Linked DNA regions of Homo sapiens: region 1 is linked to region 2. Evidence: promoter capture Hi-C in human tissues and cell types (Jung and others, 2019). All regions are on one chromosome and are shown on one strand. The core of a region is centred on a gene start or on the middle of the fragment in contact, and the rest is flanking DNA. Distances in the headings are between cores, read along the strand shown. Region 1 overlaps BPI (bactericidal permeability increasing protein). Region 2 holds the start of GHRH (growth hormone releasing hormone).

Region 1 (5,860 bases), core at 1,759-4,258, 1.1 Mb after region 2:
CCAGGTGCTCAAATGATATCCTTAGGAATCTGTCTCCATCTCTTGGCTTTGCTATCCTCTGTGCTGGCTTCATTGCCCAGCAGGCTGTCACCAAGTGGTGGCAAAATAGTCACCAGGAGCTTCCTTATTTTCCCAGAGAAAAGAGAATACCTTATTCCCAATATTCCCAGCAGAAGTCCTGGGACTGACTTTCATTGGGCCAGCATAGGTCAGAGGTACATCCTTGCAGCAATGACTGTAGCAGAAGAAGTGGACTATGCCCTTTGGTCAGCATGGCCCAGAGCTCAGTGTGGGGTCAACGGCACTAACAATGCAGGGAATGTGTGAATTCTCCAAAGGCAACATCGGGGGGCTGTGACCCGTGGAAGGGGAGTGGATACTGGGTGGGAAAACCAGACAGTATCCACCAGAGTGGGTCTCTCCTCTCTAGAGACTGGGTTCTCATGCTAGTCAGGCAATTGGTGGTCTCAGTCCCCTCCTCCCCCTCTCACAGGCTGCTCCTGGAACTGAAGCACTCAAATATTGGCCCCTTCCCGGTGAGTCTGAGGCCCTTGGTGGCTTCTTCCTCCTTCTGACCTGGCGGCGGGGAGGGGGACATGTCATAGGCTCAAGGCATTATTTAAGAGGCTACTGGCTCATTTGCATTTAATTTGGTTGTGAATTAATAGTTCAAGGAGCTTCGTGGGCAGAGGGACCTGAGCCAGAATCCCTGCTCCATACTTACTAACTGTGAGGCCTTGGGCAAGTCACTTCCCTTTTCTGAACTCCAGACCTTCCCCACCTGAGTGAGTGTAGTATGGTTTAAATGGGATTAAACATGCACAATCTGGTAGAGAAAATCTGCTCAACAAATGTTTGTTGGATGAACAAATGAATTACTTTATTGAGCACCTATTATGTGCCAAGTACTCTTCCAAGTATGGGGTAGGCTGATGCATCAGACAGGGAAGTGATGCCTTCTCAGAGCCTTACATGGCAGTGGGAAGACAGCACAATAAGAAATGAAAGGCCAGGCATGGTGGCTCATGTCCATAATCCCAGCACTTTGGGAGGCTGAAGCAGGAGGACTGCTTGAGGTTAGGACTTCAAGACCAGCCTGGGCAACATAGCAAGACCTCATCTCTTATAAAAAATAAAAATTAGGTGGGTGTGGTGGCATGCACATGTAGTCCCAGATACCTGGGAGTCTGAGGCAGGAGGATGGCTTCAGCCCGGGAGTTCCAGGTTACACAAGCTAAGATCATGCTACACTGCACTCCAGCCTGTGTGACAGAGTGAAATCTTGTCTCAAAAAAAAAAAAAAAAAGAGAGAGAAGATCGTTTCAGTCACAATCAAAGCTATAAAAACCAAAGCGGGGATGGGCGGAAAGTGATGAGGGAGAATGAAGAGTCAGAAGATGTGATCAGGGAGGGCCTCTCCGAGGAGGTGACGTTTGGACTGAAGGAGGAGAAGGAGCCAGCAGAGGAAACAGCAGGGGCAAAAGCCCTGTGGTAGAGACAAGCTTGGTGCGTTTGGGGAATGAAGGGAGCCTGTGTGTCTGGAGCAGAGCAAGTAGGGGGCATCGGAAGAGATGTGGCCAGAGGGGCAAGCACAGGCTAGCTCATCCAGGGTCTTCCGGGCTGAGCTAGAGGAGGGGAGATTGTTGTGTTGCACAGGCAGTGAGAAGCCGGTGCGCTGTTTCCCTGCAGGGAGTGCTGTGAGTCTATTTATACCTTTGTAAAAGCTTCCCCTGGCTGGGGTGGGGGGATAGATTACAGACAAGGGGTCATTGAGGAGGCTGGTGTGTTTGTCCACGTGAGATGCTGGAGGTTGGGACTCAGCCAGGCAGAAGAGAAAGATGGTGGATTGGAGATATATTTTGGAAGTAGATTTAGAGAGACCTTAGTGAGAGATATGAGCCTCTTTTATAAAGTGCATTTAAATATTTAATGAATATTTTGCACACCTTCTTTTGCACCCAGCACCATACTAGGCACAGTGGGGTATAACATGTGGTCAATGTCTGGCAGATTTAGACACAGCACAGAAGCCTCCCTCATGGCTGTGTGGTGAGGGAAAGGATTGTCCAGGTGACTTCTAGGGTTTTGGGTGGAGCAGTTGGATGAATGGCAGAGCTACGTACTGACATGGAGAAAGGGCTGGTAGGAGAGGGAAGAGCAGGGAGAAACCCAGCTCAAGTAGGTGGTTCGCCTGCCCAGGAATCACTGCTCATCATTAAGTAGATTTGCCGCTACTGCCCTCACGAGGGGCATTGATGACGAGTTGCCCCTGTTAGTAGTAAGTAGTCGCCCATGCTGTTCAACACCAGCCACACAGAGCACCTGCCCTGTGTCTAACGTCAGAAGCTGCAGTCTGCTGATCCTGTCCAGCGTCTTGCTACATTGACCTGAATCTCCTGGTGGGCTCTGGTTGAATCCCAGTTTCTGCTGCTCTGGAGAACATTTCCTTAGATTCCCGAGATGCCCCCAAGTTCCCCACCAAGTGAGTGCCTTGTAAGCCCTCCAACCCCAAAGTCATACCGTCCCAGTGTCCCCTTCAAATCTGATAAAAATCCAGCCAGCCATTTCTACCAAATGAGATTCCAAATGAAAGGACCAAATGCAACCTCACTGTATTTTCATGGACTTACTGGTTCCAAGGCTTTCTTGGTGGCTTGACTAAGTCCATAACTAATTTCTACTTCTGTAGAAACTAGAAATTTTAAGTTCCCAGGATTCATAGGAAGGAGGGCACTGCATTTGGTGAGGCCAGGGAATAACAGGCCAGGAAAAGAGACTCAGTTGTTCCAGAAACAAAAATGTATATATTTACAAATTGTAAATGTCACAACTACAGGCAAGCATCTTGAGGGTTTTACACTATTTTTAATTTTTTTTATTATTGCCAAAGAAAAATATATGCACTATAGGGCAATCAGAACCTACAGATTTGCAAAAGAAAGAAAATAAAAACCATGCATATTTTCATCACTTAGTTAATAATTTGGAGTATATCCTTCCTGACCTTTTGCTATGCCTATTTAATTAAAAAATGGAATGATGTGATTTCTATAGCCTGGTTCTCCTCACTCAAAAACATATCATGGTTATGTCTGTGTTGTTACTTACATTTCTACAATATCATTCTTAACAGTTGCATAATATTTCCTTGTATTAAAGTATTACCATTTTCCACCAAGTGATTCCCCTATTGTTGGACATGGAGATTGCTTTTAATTTATTGTTTTGGATAAATTTGTTGCTTTGGTCAACATTCTTGCATCCACATTTTTTCCTACACCCTACATTATTTCCTTAGGATAAATTCCTCAGAGGCATGTTTGCTAGCCCAAAAGGCACACGGGTCTTGCTGTGTTGCCCAGGCTGGTCTTGAACTCCTCCTGGTCTCAAGTGATCTTCTCGCCTCAGCCTCCCAAAGCACTGCTGTTACAGTCATGAACCACCAAGCCCAACCAGGCACACACAGGCTTTGGAAGAACATTGTGCCAAATAGCCGTCAAAGAGGTTGATTTGATTTGCCCTCTTACTGCAGTGTCTGAGAGGACTCATTTTTTAAGCTAAGCTTTTCCCATTTAAATACTCTCTGATGAGCTTCCTCATGATTGTCGTGAGTTGTAAGGCCTTGCACCTTACAATTGAGAACATGCTTTACATCTGGAACCATTGGAGCAAAAGAAACCACTTCCATGACCTTGATTGGGCTGCCAAGTATTCACATATCACTTGCGTCCACCTCTCAGCAGTTTTCCCAACTGCGCGGTTGCTGAGCAGCGCTAGGGGAAAGGAGGGTGACAGAGGTGGGGTGATGAGGACTGCTGGACCCGCAAGGTTCTGGCGATGCAGGGCCATCCTCCCATCCTCCCTCTGATTTCCAGGTTGAATTGCTGCAGGATATCATGAACTACATTGTACCCATTCTTGTGCTGCCCAGGGTTAACGGTAAGGAACTTTGAAGAAACCATTCATTTTCAGTCATGGGGGAAGAGGGTGGGGTTGATTACCCACAGCCACCTGTTACCTGGCCCCAGGTATGAGGGCTGGGCAGTGGTGATGTCAAGTGAACTTCAAATGGCATCTGACCCAGAAATGAATGCAACAAAAAGGAACTCACATGAGTTGACTTACTACACATGGGTTGATTCATTATTGCGTGAGTTTGTCCTTACAAAACCCCCATGAGATGAAGGATTATTAACATCTCCAACTTTTATGGCAGGAAGCGGAAGAACAGAATGGTTTAGTGACTTAGGTCACAGAGCAGGCAAGAGATGGGGCATGGGTTTGATCCTAGCAGTGAAAACAAAGCCCATGGTCTCTTTCCAACTTTGGAAGCAGGATGAGGGGGTTCCCTGATAACCCCTCCCAGAGCTTAGATCACCACGCTGGTAAGAGCTTCAGGCAGGCCGGCCCCTGACCTTTGAGAGTGAGGGGCAAAAGTACTAATAGAGGCCCATATAACCTGTGACTAGGATATTTAGAACTTACCAATTAATCCAACAAATTATCATATGAAATATGATACATCAGTCCTGGGATCTGTCCTCCTACCTTGACAAATGTAGCTTTGTAATGACCTGGGAGGCCACGTTCTAATTTAGAGTTCTCCAAAGTTCCGTGTCAGAATGTGGCAGTATGTGGGGGGCTTGCCCTGGCCACTGTCCACCTCTGGCTTTATCCTAAATGTTGAGGGGTTTCATGCTCACATGCATAAATACCCCTATTACACACCACGCTCTAGTCACACCATTGCAAGCAGCAGATTTTTGGTTTAGTGTATACCAGCAGTGCTGCACCCTCAGGAGGGCCATCATGGGGATGGAGTCCACGCAGGTGCTAGAAGTGGACTTGGGGTTGATGGACAACAGGTGGGAGGTACGGACTCTGGGGCAGCCTTCCTTTCAGGCATGTATGCCCATGCCAGTCCCTACCTAGGGCCAGGCATGCTGGTTCAGGGAGGCTGTCTACCCAGGCTCTCTGGCCCTCCCTCCTCCCCTGCCCTTCTCTTTCTTTTCTCCTGGTCCTCACCATCGGTCTCTGTCACAGAGAAACTACAGAAAGGCTTCCCTCTCCCGACGCCGGCCAGAGTCCAGCTCTACAACGTAGTGCTTCAGCCTCACCAGGTGAGTCCCGGAGTCTTTTCCACAAATCTCCCCTAACGATAGTGACCAACAGCAGCCTATGGCTGCAATGCTTCCTGCATGCCAAGCCCTGTGTGAAGCGCCTTCTACCCTTACAACAACTCTGGGATGTGGGTGCTGTTAAAAAACAAAGAAAGACCAAGGTTCAGAAAAGCCACACAGTGTTAAATGAAGTCCAGATTCAAAGCCAGGCTCCCGGCTTTGAACCATCACTGCATCGTTCCCACGCTACACTCGGCAAAAATGAAATGCATTTGTGGGCCAAAGAGCCTCTTTTTTAAGGTGCATTTAAATATTTAACGAATATATGTTGCACACCTTTTGCACCCAGCATCATACTAGGCACTGTGGGGTATAACATGTGGTCGACGTCTGGCAGATTTAGACACAGCACAGAAGTCTCCTTCGTGGCTTTCGCCCAGGCTGACTTCCGTCTGCATTTGACACTGATGCGCTTCCTGGGCATGCTTTCTTCTCTTAGTTTCCAGCACTCCCCTAGCTCTTGGTTGTCTACCTGCCACCTCCTCTGCTTGTTCTCCTGCCCCTTCTCTGCAAGCTGGAGATCTCCAGGACCCCTCCCCAGGCCTCTTCTCTTCCCCCGCCATTGGCAAGCCTTCGTCACTCTTGTCAACCTCTTCAGGCTTAGCTGCCACCTGCGTGCCACCCAATGTCCCAGACATGCTTCCAGTCTTTTTATTTTTTCCAAACTCTCAGCTTGTGCA
Region 2 (6,573 bases), core at 3,617-6,116:
GCCATTGGGATGGCCTTCACTGGCCCAGCCCTGGGCTTGGCTCCATGGCAAGCCTTGGTCCTTGGTTTTTGGAAGCTGTGGGATGGGAAAAAGAACCCAGACACTGGAAGTCAGACAGACCTGAGTTCATGTTCTGCCTCTGCCAGCCACCTGCTCTGACTTCATTTTCTCCATCTGTAGAATGGGCGTGATGGAGCTCCCCTGCCAACCACATAGGGTTGAACCAAAAACCAGTGATAGTAGGGAAATTTCCCCTTGCCATAAGGTATTAGAAGTAGGATTTGGGCTCAGGCACAGTGACTCACGCCTGTAATCCCAGCACTTTGGGAGGCTGAGGTGGGCGGATCACCTGAGGCCAGGAGTTTGAGACCAGCCTGGCCAACCTGGTGAAATCCCATCTCTACTAACATTACAAAAATAAGACAGGAGTGGTGGCGTGTGCCTGTAATCCCAGCTACTCAGGAGGTTGAGGCACGAGAATCCCTTGAACCCAGGAGGTGGAAGTTGCAGTGAGCCAAGATCGTCCCATGCACTCCACGCTGGGTGACAAAGTGAGACCCTGTCTCAAAAAAAAAAAAAAAAAATTTAAATAAATAGAATAAATGGGATCCCTTAGCAAGGAATGGGGAAGGTCAAAGAACCTTCTCTCAGTGCCCCTCATTCAACCCCATCCAGTGTGGCAGTGAAAGCAGGCAGCAAGGGTAACTGCTCAGCTCTGAGTCAGACAAACTGGAAGTTCAAATCCTGGCTCTGCTGTCATTAGCTGTGTGTCCCAGGACAAGTGGCTTCACCTCTCTGAGCCTTATTTTCCCCGGCCATAAAACCAAGATAGTAACTAGACCTCCTACTTCGGCTCCTGGAAGGATCTGGTGAGGTAAGTGCCTGAACCAATAGGGAATTCTCTAGAAACCTTTGCTGTGTCTACCTAAGACCAACCCTCTCAGAGGGCAGGCTCTTCCTGTTTTAATTTTGTTTGGAGTTGGAGAGAGGGGAGAAGGGCTCTAAGTCTTGCTCCAGATGCTTAGATTTTGCTGAAGAGTTTTAGTCCTGGAAGAGACTGAAGAGCCGGGGGATCCAGTGTGGCGCAGTCATCTCATAGGTCCTGTAACTACCCTTAATTGGGGCCTGCGGACAGCATGCTCTGCAATTAGGGGAAAAACAGCCAGCAGGGGACAGAGCCCGCCTCCGCTGGGGCAAGTGCCACTGCTGTCAGCCCAGACCTGCCCAAGCATGGAAACACGGCTGGCCTCGGGGGACTTGGCCACCTAGGAATTGGGTCCTCCCATCTCCCATGGGTTTCTCCCTCTCTCAGCAGGATGTCTACTCCATGGGGGTGTAGATCCATCCAGAAGCCCAGCCAGCCCCGGAGGTGGCCAGCACCCCCGCCTTTCCCACAATCTCCTCACATGGCTTCCTTCTCTCCCACTCCTGGGTCCTGCTGAGGAGTTCTGGCAGGCAGGGCCAGCACTGGCAGAACCCACCTTGCTCTCCCGGCCCTCTCAGGGTATCACCCTCCTTTCTGAAGGCACTGAAGTCTCCTCTAACCCAGGGATGCCTTGGGCCCCCAGGCAGCACTCAGGGGGTCTGCTTACTGCAGCCTGAGACCCTGTACCTGCAGAGCTGGAGGGAGCAGCAGCCCAGGCCTCAGTGGTCAGCCCCTCCCTCCATGACATGAGCATCCCCACAACACGCACACTGGCTGTCCTCCACTTCCTGCTCGAGTGAGCACTTGCTGCCAGCGAATGACAGGGATCTCACTACCCCCAGGCCCGGGAGCTTATTTCCAGATGGTTCTTTATTTATTTATTTTGAGAGCGGGTCTCACTCTGTGGCCCAGGCTGAGGTGCAGTGGTGCAATCATAGCTCACTACAGCCTCAAACTCCTGGGCTCAAGCAATCCTCCTGCCTCAGCCTCCTGAGTAGCTGGGACAGCAGGCATGTGCCATCATGCCCAGCTAATTTTGAAATTTTTTGTAAAGATAAAGTCTCACTATATTGCCGAGGCTGGTTTCAAACCCCCGGGCTTAAGTGATCCCCCCGCCTCAGCCTCCCAAAGAGTTGAGCTTATAGGCATGAGCCACAATGCCAGGCCCAGGCAGTTCTTATTGTTAGGAAGTTTGTCTCACCATGTCAAGCCCAAATCTCCTTCTCCTGCAAATGTTTGTTAAGCCTCTACTGTTCCGGTAAGGACTGGGGCTAGAGAAAAGATGAGAACACGGGATCTACCCCGAGGGCTGGCTGTGTAACATCCGCCTGCTGGGCTGGAGCCTCTGCACCTACAGCCACACGACTGGTCCTTTAGATATGTTCCGCATGTCTGACTTAAGCTTTTGTTCCTCAGACCAAGGCTCGGCAGGCTTCCGTCCTCCTCATCGCACCATACCACGTCTGGTCCCCCTTCTCCCCACCTGGTCCAGGCTGCCTCTCCAGAAGTGGAATTTCCTAAGCCGAGAGATCTCTGGATGCAAGCAGGGCCCCTTGACAGAAACCACTGCCTTTTCTGTCTCCCAGCTGCAGCCTGGCTTTCTTGCCTTCTTTGCTGCTGATCTTTTAAAGATTCAGGCAGATCTAGGTCCCCAATCACCTCCCTCCCCTGCTCAGAAGCCCTTGGCTCCCCACTCCTTCCAGAATAAAGCTCAAACCCCTTCTCTTGGCTTAAGCTCTCCCTCTGCCTGCCCCTTCTCCCAAGGGCTGGCACAAGTGATTCCCAGCCCCTGTGCCCTATCAGGCTCCACAACCCATCCTTGCACTCTCCCTCTGGAGCAGGCATCCCCATGCTCCTCTTACAGCCAAGGAAAAGAGCCTAGAGAGGACAAGGACATTTTCCATGATCCTCCATCAAATTAGTTTTGGAGTGGGCACTTCAGAGTGGGCCTCCTCATTCCCAGGCCGGCAGACTTCCTTCCGCTCCATGCAGCAGCCTCCCAGGTACAATGCTCTATTCACAGTATTCCCCATTCACAGGGATCCTCAGCCTCCATCACCTGCACGTGGGAAAGGGTCTGAAAAAAAGGAAAGCTTCTTGCTCTTTGTTGTTGGGCCTCTGGGGAAGAAAGAACAGGGACAAACAGGAACACCTGCTTGATTGGCCCCTCCCTATGCACACCCAGTAGTTTCAGGGAGTTGAAACAACCTCATAGGAGGGCAGACTTTGGTGGGGAGGGCAAGTCATAGTAAACACAATACCCCGCTCATTCAAGATAAGGCTCAGCAACTGCACAAGTTAACCAAGAGGCTCAACATTTGCCACAAATCCTGTGCCCCAGGCATAGGTCAAGACCCCACAGCAACCTCTGAGCTATGAGAACCGAATCCATGGGTTTGCAGATCCCACTGGATGAAAATGGGAAACAAGAATTATCCAGTGTAGGGTAAGATAAGAAGAATAGAGGTTATGTCACTAAGGATAAAATAGCTCCAGCCTGAGCAACATGGCGAGACCCCATCTCTACAAAAAAAAAAACACACAAAACAAAACAAAAAAAAACTTATCTAGGCATGGTGGCGCATGCCTGTAGTCCCAGCTACTCTGGAGGCTGATGTGGGAGGATTGCTTGAGCCCGGGAGGTTAAGGCTGCAGTGATCCATGATAGTGCCACTGCACAGTAGCCTAAATGTCAGAGCAAGACCCCATCTCAAAGAATAAAATAAAATAGCTGTCAACAGACACATTCCACATGACAACTTAAGGAGTCAAAATTCACTGAATGAAGTGTAGCCGAGCCCAACAGCATTGCTGGCAACCCTGATGACTGAAGGCACTCCAGAGTTTATAATCTATCATTATGATCATCGGTTAGCTTCCTGCAGTGCTTACTGATTCTGGGATTAGATGTACTTGAGATTGCCTGGATTCAGGATAAACGGGCACTTGATCTACATCCGTTGGCACCTTTTGCCAGCTTTCATGCCAGGAATGCCAGGAGAATTCTGCAGATTCACCTGCAGCTGACAGAGGTCAGGTCTCAAGCACCCAAATTCGCAAGGCCATTTTTGAAAACCCAGGGAAAGAACATCTTTAACCTTCCTTGAATATCCCCCTTTGAAATTTGAGCACCCCAAAGCATAGACTTCCTGATCTGGTTTATAAACTGTTTCAGTGACAGCATTCCAAGTTAAAAGAAATCTAAGTTTTTAATGAGGAAGCATCTTGAACTGTCATTCAAAAGAGTGACACTCCACCTCCTTCCAGAAGGGGTTTGAGGCAGTCTATGGTGAAAGACACAAATACTTCAGGACCATTAAAGCAAGGATCAGGAGACAGGCGTGGGGTAGCGGAGGACTCCAAAGGCAGATAATTGTGTCTAAAACCTGGAGTAAAGAGTGTGGCTGCAATTGAGCAAGAAAGCAAAATGTTATCAATTTCCCGGCAATTACATTGAATCAGTTCTGAGTGATCAATGAGCAGTATTGATTTGCACAGCCACTTGGCTCATCTCTGATCCATGGCAGAATCCCATCGCTGACAGGAAAATCGAGCCAACTCACGTTTGCCCCCGAAGCCTGCCCACGCATCCTCGAAGGAGCACTGAGACCTCACCACCTGCGACAGACACCTGGAGCCAGTCCGCCACGCGCCCAAGTTAAGACAAGCCCCAAACAGCACCATCAAAAGCCTATTCCAGAGCCCCTATTGAGGGGTGATTTTATCCAGAGAGGGGCTCAAATGTACTCACCAGTCCATGGGCAAAGAGGATGGCGGTGGGCCTCTTGGACTCAGTGTTTCTAAGTTGGTGAGAAGGTTAACTTTTCTTACCCCCACCCAGCCTAGCCCCCCCAGGGCCACCCCTCTCACCTGATGCGGCAGATATCCCTCTGCTCCGAGGCACTGCTCAAATCCAGGGGCCCTGGGCTGGGTGTTTGCTCTGGCAGCCGCCTGGCGTTCCCATCATTTATCTCTTCATTTTCCTAAGCGTTGTCAGCGTCAGAGAATCAATTACCCACAAGTCAACCAAAGGACTGTTTTTAGCATCATATCACACTGACAAACCCTGTTGGTGAAAGAGGTTTGGCCCCTTGCAGACTTAGACTCCTGGTAAAGTCTCCTTTTATCTTTGGCACAGTGGACATAGTACAAAGGTGTAACATTATTCCAAGAGGATATAGAGAATATATACTGCTATAATAGTGATTGGAGAACTCGGCTGGGCGCGGTGGCTCACACCTGCCATCCTAGCACTTTGGGAGGCTGAGGCGGGTGGATTGCCTGAGCTCAGAAGTTTGAGACCAACCTGGGCAACATAATGAGACCCTGTCTCTAGAAAAAAATTAAAAATTAGCTGGGCATGTTGGCACATGGGTATAGTCCCAGCTACTCAGGTGGCTGAGGCAAGAGTGTCACCTGAGCCTGGGAGGCGGAGGTTGCAGTGAGCCAAGACCACGCTATGGCACTCCAGCCTGGGTGACAGAGCACGACTCTATCTCAAAATATATATTTTTTAAAAAAAGAAAAAATATGTGTTAAAAATAATTGGAGAACTCATAACAGTGAAACACCAAGAGTTTATTGATTCTCCAAGATAAATGTGCCTTTTCAAAAGTTCATATAATTTAGCTTTGTCCCTGTGTAATTTTATTTCACTTTTGGGTAGACAACATTATGAATAAGCGTTATTCTCTCCTTAGTGGGGAATTTGTTCCCTATCTCCCTTGTCGTCCAATTATCAGAATTCTGCACTATTTGATTTACACCTGCTTGGTCACAGGCTGATTTCAACAGCTAGCCTGGGGGCATCCGTCGTCACCTGTCAAGGCAGCCAGACATTGGCAGTTGCCTCAGAGAAGTGTGAAATGAGAGGGAAGAGATGGAAAACCTTGGGAGAGTTGTTGTGTTTCCAGATTTCTCTAGCCTATAGCTAAGAAATCCTCAGGAATGACATAAAAGCACAGGAGGCAGAAGCTCTGGTTTCCCAGGCGGCCGTCGTGGAGGTGTGGAAAGAGCTCCAAGCCTCGAGTCTAGGGACCTGCTGCCTCTCCCAAGCCTGTCAATCATGACCTCTGTGACCCTTAGGAAGTTACTTCTACCTGGCTGGGTGCAGTGGCTCACACCTGTAATCCCAGCACTTTGGGAGGCTGAGGCGGGTGGATCATGAGGTCAGGGGTTCGAGACCAGCCTGACCAACATGGTGAAACCCCGTCTCTACTAAAAATACAAAAATTAGCTGGGTGTGGTAGTGGGCACCTGTAATCCCAGCTACTCAGGAGGCTGAGGCAGGAGAATTGCTTGAACCCGGGAGGTGGAGGTTGCAGTGAGCCGAGATCGTGCCACTGCACTCCAGCCTGGGCGACAGAGCGAGACTCTGTCTCAAAAAAAGAAAAAAAACTTCTACCCTCCGGGCCTCAGTTTCTACCTGGAAACTTGAGAGTTGACATAGAACAGCAACTTTCAAACTATTTTTTTGAGAGGGATCCTATCTTTGCCACCCAGGTTGGAGTGCAGTGGCATAATCTCGACTCATTGCAACCTCCACCTCCCGGGTTCAAATGATTCTCCTGCCTTAGCCTCCAGAGTAGCTGGGATTACAGGTGCGTACCACCACGCCTGGCTAAGTTTTGTATTTTAGTAGAGATGGG

Evidence for each region. The method cuts DNA at HindIII sites, captures the fragments that hold promoters and counts their contacts. A contact is called where the count stands out against the background at its distance.
Region 1: a contact is called between a fragment that was not itself captured here and the fragment with the promoter of GHRH in region 2, in 3 of the 25 tissues and cell types used here (H1 embryonic stem cells, IMR-90 fibroblasts and mesenchymal stem cells).

Annotation. Positions count from the first base shown.
Region 1 is chr20:38,330,555-38,336,414 of GRCh38, forward strand. BPI (bactericidal permeability increasing protein) reads left to right here. Exons shown (of 15, transcript NM_001725.3): 12 at 494-536; 13 at 3,876-3,939; 14 at 5,044-5,120. Among named protein-coding and RNA genes, the nearest start is that of LBP, 13 kb to the right of the region's middle. RefSeq lists an enhancer at 3,781-4,980. The HindIII fragment of the contact is 5,423 bases long and covers 298-5,720 here.
Region 2 is chr20:37,256,948-37,263,520 of GRCh38, forward strand. It overlaps GHRH (growth hormone releasing hormone), which reads right to left and starts at 4,867. Exons shown (of 5, transcript NM_021081.6): 1 at 4,796-4,867. RefSeq lists a silencer at 1,052-1,285. The HindIII fragment of the contact is 8,848 bases long and covers 2,673-6,573 here.